2 separate regions of the Homo sapiens genome follow, and region 1 is linked to region 2. Evidence: promoter capture Hi-C in human tissues and cell types (Jung and others, 2019). All regions are on one chromosome and are shown on one strand. Each heading gives the region's core, a stretch centred on a gene start or on the middle of the fragment in contact. The rest is flanking DNA. Distances are from core to core; before and after follow the strand shown.

Evidence for each region. Contacts are between HindIII fragments. The study calls those that stand out against the background at their distance.
Region 1: a fragment that was not itself captured here is called in contact with the fragment with the promoter of MTIF2 in region 2 in 1 of the 25 tissues and cell types used here (bladder).

The regions. Positions count from the first base shown.
Region 1 is chr2:55,316,582-55,320,440 of GRCh38, forward strand. CCDC88A (coiled-coil domain containing 88A) reads right to left here. Exons shown (of 33, transcript NM_001365480.1): 19 at 2,262-2,423; 20 at 983-1,260; 21 at 625-768. The region is part of intron 2 of LOC124907768 (a long non-coding RNA gene); the gene reads left to right. Among named protein-coding and RNA genes, the nearest start is that of MTIF2, 49 kb to the left of the region's middle. The HindIII fragment of the contact is 6,665 bases long and covers 1-3,859 here.
Region 2 is chr2:55,267,444-55,271,565 of GRCh38, forward strand. It overlaps MTIF2 (mitochondrial translational initiation factor 2), which reads right to left and starts at 1,788. Exons shown (of 16, transcript NM_002453.3): 1 at 1,726-1,788; 2 at 1,135-1,296; 3 at 126-192. RefSeq lists enhancers at 1,731-1,880, 1,826-2,649. The HindIII fragment of the contact is 5,929 bases long and covers 762-4,122 here.

The DNA.
Region 1 (3,859 bases), core at 511-3,010, 49 kb after region 2:
AAAATTAGCTAGGCATGGTGGTGTGTGCCAGCAGTTCCAGCTACCTGAGGGGCTAAGGTGGAAGGATTGCTTAAGCATAGTAGTTTGAGGTTGCAGTAAGCTATGATCATGCTACTGAACTTCAGCTTGGGCAAAAGAGTAAGATCCTATCTCTCTCTCTCTTTTTTTTTTGGAGATGGAGTCTTACTCTGTTGCCCAGACTGGAGTGCAGTGGCGCGATCTCGACTCACTGCAACCTTTGCCTCTCAGGTTTAAGCAATTCTCCTGTCTCACCCACCCAAGTAGCTGGGACTACAGGTGCACGCCACCAAGCCTGGCTAATTTTTGTATTTTTAGTAGAGACGAGGTTTCACCATGTTGGTCAGGCTGGTCTCAAACTCCTGACTCAGGTGATCTACCTGCCTCGGCCTCCCAAAGTGCTGGAATTACAGGTGTGAGCCACTGCACCCAGCCTATTCTATTTTTTAAAATTCCGAATTCAAACTATGCTTGGTACTACAAAGGGGCAGTATATAGTTTGGATGTAAGAAATAATACATAATTTTGAAAAAACATATATATACACATATATATGTATATACTTTCTATATAAAATGTTTGTTATATATAATATATATTTATTACCTATCATTTTCACCACAAAGTTTCTTGTATTCTGCAGCTACTGTTTCATGATTTTTATTTTCAAGCAGCATTTTTTCCTGTTCTACTTTGAGCATTTTTTCCAAATCTTCCAACTGTCCTTTCTGTTTTAATAACTGATTGTAACTGGGGGGAAAAAAGGCATTTGGTTTATAATATTTACAAAAAAGAAATTTTAGAAATGAAGGAAATGAGTAATGAGTATCATTTAAAACACATGTAAATTTATATAAATTTCTTATGTAAACTAACATTAGATGTGTTTAATATATAAAATTTATTATACTACTTGAAGAAAATTCATTTTAAATTCACAGTACAACAAAATATAATAAATTACCGGTCTTCAAGGTCTCTATGTTCCACCTCAAGATTTTTGTGGGCAGACTTCAGAGTTCCATGTTTAGAGATAAGAGATTCATACTCTGAAGCCTGACGTTCATGAAGAAGTTCCAGCTTTTCATGATCTTTGATCAGAGAATCATAGAGAGATTTTAGGTCTTCTCGCTCTTTGATTACAGATTCATTTTCATTTTCTAAGGAAGACTGCTGGATTAGGAGTTGGGCATTCTGGTTCATGAGTGAGGTACTTTGGGAATTAAGGGTGGAATTTTCAACCTATAAGAATATATATTGTTATCAGACATAAGAAAAACAGTTCATGTTCTTTTTCAAAATACAAGATTACAATGTTAATTAAAGAAAGCTCTAAATGAATCACAGCACACATATTTACATTATACTGGGAAGACGTGGATTTTAGCTTCCCAAAGAATAAGGCTATCATTTAATTTTGACTTTTGGAAGTGTATATATACATATGTATGTGTGTATATATAGACATATATATGTATTGTATGTTTTGGGTTGAATTTATTTTAAATGAAGGTGATTAGCAACCATTTGTATTATATTACAAATGAAAATGTATAGAATTTGAAGTACTAGTTTATCATTTCTAGAATTTGGTGATAGAAGTTGATAGAAGTGAAAAATTACTTTTAGAAATTTTTCAAGAGTCCAAATTAAATAAGTATTTTCTTTATCAAAGTGTTGATGTTAATCAAAATCAGTGTCAAAGAAAAGGGTTACAGAAAGAAGAATTCTTTGATTCGGAGAGGGAACTTGTTTCTGCTCTTTAAGAGCTTTCAGAGTTGAACTTTTCCCCACCTGATTGTTCTGTTTTAAAAGACACTGGCGGTGTTAAGTGAAAGATGGATCCTTTGAACTTAGGAGAGGTCTAAAGACAAAATTCTCATGTTGTCCTGCTTTTCAGTAACTAAACTGACAAAAAAAAGCTATACAAATGAAATAAGGAATAGTATGCTGCAAGCATACTCTAAAGCAAGGGTTTCTACCTAATTTTTTACAATCGACTTAATGAAATGGTAGAAAGACCATAAATATAATTTATCTTTATTCAGATGTATTGACTGAATTTATTAATATTTAAAATTAAAAACTGATGTGTGAAAATTTGGCATGGCACTAAATAAAAATATTTTCATTTATCTTTAAGTTCATTCACTAAGAAACAATGTTTCCATGTTTACCCTCCCTTATTTTAATAGCATAATTCAAGAGTTTGGTTGCATATTCCCAAAATATTATATTACAACCTGAAGCTTGGCATTCTGTGTTTGAAGAGTGGTATTCTGTTCTTGTAATGACACTGTCTGCCTCTGAAGTGCAAGAATCTGAGCCTGCAAATTATTGTTCTGTGTCTCAAGTTGCTTCAGTTGAGTTTTCAACGCTTGCTTCTCTGCTTGCAGTGTAGCATTCTTGAAAAACAAAAACCAAAACCAAACATATTAACAATAATGGCAACATCAAATATGTTTCTATAGTATACTGAATTTTATACAATGAGTATTTATTAGCATTATAATCCATAAAAGCCCCAACAATCTTAAAAGAGAAAAAAAACCAAAACATTTCCCCCATCCCAAATTGTAAACAGACATTTATCAGAAAGAAGGCAATGATATTAAAACTTTAATATTGTGCCTGTGTCTTGTCTGCATTATAATATCCTAAAAATAAAATATCCCATTCTAAATATATTTATTAACACAAAAACTAGAAAGGAATTGTCAGTTGTATGGTTTTAATACTGCTTGAAGGTTCCCAGAATGCCCAGAATAAATGGGGCTGTGTCCAACCATGGAGGTCTAACTTTTCTAATTTACCCAAAGGCAAATATATACCTAAGTGAGTAGTGGTCCCAGAGATAGTGCAAAACTAAGTATATTCCAAACACAAATATTTCAAAGGGAAGCAGGTTTACAGGAACAATCTTAACCATTTTTTGTTTCCATTTTGCAATCCACAACAGACCTAACGCAGATATTTTCTTATTTTTCCCACAATATAAAATACTAATTAAAATTCTATTTCAACTATAAGACTCCTGGAGCATTTCCAAACAAAACATAAAATTTTCAGTTTTTCCAGTACATAAGGCCATATTTCAATTTTATAGCTAAACAAATGAATTACTATGTGAATCAATGATTATTATATTTTAAAATACTTGTCATTAATATTTTCAGGATTATTTCTAAATTAAACTTCATAAAAAATCAACAACAGCAAAGTATAAACAAAGAACCCTCCAGAAAACAGAAATAAAACTTTAATGTACAAAAGGTCATAATTGGTCTACCCTGCAGTATGCATAAAAAGTTAACAACTGAATCACAATAGATCACTCTTATCATATCTATATGTAAATATAACATTAATTTTATTGGCTTTATGTTATATACACTGCATGTCACTGTGTAAAAGGCAGGTCAGGATTTGACCCACATATTATACCATAAAATTGAAGCTGAGGAAACAAATGCTTTAAGATGCGTTATGATTTTATACTTCTCTTTTGTTCATTTGTTCAAATAGAAAGGATGAAAAAATGTGTACTAGAAAAAATAAAAAGGAATACTGATAGTACTGATGTATTTATATACCATCTCAGCACAAAGAGGTGAACCATTTTTCACATATATATGTGAAATACTATTGTAGTTTAGCACTTTAGAAACTAAATTGTACAAGCTCTACCGATTATTCCAGGTGTCTTTGGGAATAAAAAAAATTCCTATAGTCTATAATGAATAGAAGAGATAGCTGAGAGGGTATCTTAGAGCAGGAAAAAATTTACAAGGGCAAAGAAATAAGTTAGCAAATATAATACTGGCAAACACACAAAAATTAC
Region 2 (4,122 bases), core at 538-3,037:
CCACCGCGCCTGGCCTATACTGAATATTTTTTAAAAGAAAGAAAAGAAATGATAACAGAAACAAGTACAGTATAGCAAAGAAAGTATCTTATTAGGCAACAAAGGAACCTTAGGTGGACACTCACTCTGACAGTCAGTGTTATCTGGACTCAGCAAGTCACTTGTTTCCTATGGGCCTCATTTTCCGGATCTCTGTTAAAAATAAATAAATAAATAAGTGTTTGAATATCTGTCCTTCCTATTACAAGACTAAGAGGAGAAAATGAGATGATGTATATACTTTATCATCAGCTATTTTAAAACCATATCACATGTCTTGATACTCGCTTATAAGCTTTGAGGATTCATTGCTTATAAGTTAAAAATATTCACAAGTCATTAACTTGTTTACCTTCGGACAATTATGAGGTTGTGTATGTGTGTGTAATCGAGCAAGCATTTTACCTTAAAAGGCTTATTCGAGTAAAGATCAAGGAAAAATCTAACTTAATGCCAACGAAATAAACACATTAAGATTTAGAAATTCAGGCTGGGCGTGATGGCTCATGCCTGTAATCCTAGCACTTTGGGAGGTCGAGGCGGGCGGATCACCTGAGGTCAGGAGTTCGAGACCAGCCTGGCCAACATGGTGAAACCCCCTCTCTACTAAAAGTACAAAAATTAGCCGGGTACGGTGGCGGGCGCCTGTAATCCCAGCGACTTGGGAGGCTGAGGCAGGAGAATCGCTTGAACCCAGGAGGCAGAGACTGCAGTGAGCCGAGATCAGGCCACTGCACTCCAGCCTGGGCGACAGTGAGACTCTGTCTAAAGAAAAAAAAAAGAAGATTTGGAAATTCATTCAATAGTATTTACACACATTAAATACTTCTAAGAATGGCACATGGAAAATATCTTATTTACGTTTGTGCCCCTGGACCAAGAAGTAGAGTGCTCAGGTAACACAGGATTCCTTGAGAAAATAATTTTTAAATCAGTATGAAACCAGATTTGAGAAGAGCACAGATTAATGGAGTGGGAGGAAGGACCCTACGAGATATTAACCAAAGCACAGATATGTAATTGAGGCAGGAACTGGAAAGACACATTGGAGGCAATAACCCAAATGTCAAAACTGGAAGGAAACTTGTCACTTACTCCAAGCTCCTCATTTTACAGAAAAGGAAACGGAAATCCAGAAGGGTCAAAAAAGCTTCTCCAATGTCATACCGCTAGTTAATGGCAGTCAAGACTAGAACCCAGACGTTCTGACTCCCAGTACGGTGTTGTTTCGCCGCTAGGATATCCTTGTCAAGGAATCTGAAAAAAGTATGTTGCAAATACGTAGTTGCGTTAGGGAAAACGTCTGAATGTGAGCTGGAAGCTTTGGAACTTACCAGAAAGGTAAAAATAAATCACTGCAGAAAAATTACGGATCTGGGGTGGCTCGCCTCAAATTGGAGCCCAGAAGGCCTTGGGCCCATGGGAGGCTGGGAAGTGAGGACCTGCACCCACAGCCGCGCGCGAGGAGGGGAAGCCGGCCAGCCGCTTCCGAGAGAACAGTGCACATGCCTTCGTGAATGCCTAACGTGGGCTCACGCAGGGATTAAATGCATCTTGGAAAGGCTTCCGAACGCACAATGTTTATGAAGTTCGCGTGATTTGTGCCACTGACACGTTAGGCGAAACAACACACACCACCTGCACCGGACAACCCTGGTTAAGGGATCCTACCCACTTAACTCCTACCTACAGCCCCGGGCCCCTGGATTCTGAGCACGGGCGGAGATCACCTTCTGGACCCGGAAGAATGGTCGGTAGGTCAGTCCGTCCCCGCTACGGTCCCCGCCGGGCTTCCGGTCCCGCTGGAAAAGGTTCTTTCCGGAATTCAGAGAGTTGCTGTCGCCGCTGGGGGTGGGACTGTCTGCGGTGTCCGCGGCGGGCGTCCAGCCTGGGAGGCGCTGGTTCAACCTGTGGCTCCTCCCAGGGTCAGCCGCGCGTGGTGAATCGTTTCTGCAGGTCCCTTCCATTTCTTACTTTCCTTTCCTTTCTTTCTCTCTTTCCTTTTTTTCTTTCTGTCCCTCTCCTTTCTTTCCTTCCTTCCTTTCTTCATTTCTTCCTTCCTTTCCTCTTCCTTCCTTTCCGTTTTTCTTTCTCTTTTTTTTTTTTTTAAGAAAACTGCCTTTATTCAATTAGAAGTTGGAAAAATTAACTGGTACAGAAAAAAAGTGTAATCAGCTGGAGAAAAAGTGCCACCCATGAGAACTGATGGCTCCTCTGGGAGGGAATCTGGATACAGTGAGGATTTCTAGGAAGCAAATTACTTCTTCTCTGGGGCTATGAGAGGCCTCGGTGGTGCTTAACACTGTAGGAAACGTTAAATGGAGAATTGTGGGAGAAATGATACCTCCTTCAAAGATACGTGTTCCTAACAAGAAGGAAAAAACAAATGCAAGCGAACAGTGGCGGTAGAACCAGTTAGTATTGTGCGAACAGTACTTTCTGTTTTCTCCTAAGTCAGCTCGTGTGTATGGCATTAGGAGTAATAGAGCCAGAGTGCCTGGTTTCCTATCCCAGCTCATTCCTAGTGTGTGGTTGGGAATGTTTTGTCAACTGTCCATGTCCCAGTTTGTTCATCTACATTATAGTAATGACAGTAGCTAGTTCACAGGATTGTAATAAGGTTTTTGTTGTGTTTTTGTTTCTATTTGTTTTTGAGATGGAGTTTCGCTCTTGTTGCCCAGGCCGGAGTGCAATGGCACGATCTCAGCTCACCGCAACCTCTGCCTCCCGGGTTCAAGCGATTCTCCTGCCTCAGCCTCCCGAGTAGCTGGGATTACAGGCATGTGCCACCACTCCTGGCTAATTTTGTGTTTCTTGTAGAGACAGGGTTTTTCCATGTTGGTCAGGCTGGTCTCGAATTCCCTATTTCAGATGATCCGCCCACATCGGCCTCCCAAAGTGCTGGGATGACAGGCGTTAGCCACCTCTCCCAGACTGTTTTTTGTTTTTTTTGAGACAGTGTCACTCTGTCGCCCAAGCTGGAGCACAATGGCGCGATCTCGGCTCATTGCAACCAAACTCCGCTTCCTGGGTTCAAGTGATTCTCCCGCCTCAGCCTCCCGCGTAGCTGAGATTACAGGGGCACATCACCATGCCTCACTAATTCACCATGTTGGCCAAGCTGGTCTCGAACTCCTGACCTCAGGTGACTGCCCACCTAAGCCTCCCAAAGTGCTGGGATTACAGGCATGAGCCACCACGCCCGGCTGCAATAAGCTTTTAATGGGTTGATAAACTGTTGATAAGTAGTGCCTGGTTCATAGTATGTGTTTGCTGTTATGGTTATTACTGCCTGCCCCCAGAGCTTTCCCTCATCTTGCTTGGACATTATGACTTTCAGCTGGTCGTTTTGACCACAACCATCACCACCTCTCAAATATAAATATTGTTTTATTATCTCTGTCTTTTGGTAAAAGGAATTTGAGAAGAAAACAAAATCAATCAATTAATCTTTGTCTTTAAGATCTACCACTCCCCTGGGTAATTGGTATGGTACAGAAGTTCATTACTCAAAAGCATACTTGCCATTGAGGGAAGAGAGAGACCCTCTCATATTGTTTTATATTGTTTTATACTCAGTACCTGTTTTAAGAGAGAAAAAAGAAGTGAAATCAAAGACAGGCAGTCCGGCGCCAGGCCCAAAACCAGGCCTGGCTCTGCCTGGCCTAAACCCAGTAGTTAAAAATCAACTCAGGCTGGGCGCAGTGGCTCACGCCTGTAATCCCAGCGCTTTGGGAGGCCGAGGCGGGTGGATCACGAAGTCAGGAGATCGAGACCACCCTGGCTAACACGGTGAAACCCCGTCTCTACTAAATATATATTAAAAAAAATTAGCCGGGTGTGGTGGCGGGTGCCTGTAGTCCCAGCTACTTGGGACGTTGAGGCAGGAGAATGGCGTGAACCTGGGAGGCGGAGCTTGCAGTGAGCCGAGATGGCGCCACTGCACTCCAGCCTGGGTGACAGAGCGAGACTCCGTCTCAAAATAAATAAATAAATAAATAAATAAATAAATAAATAAATAAAATAAAAATCAACTCATAACCTAGAAACCGATGTTATTCATAGATTCCAGACATTGTATAG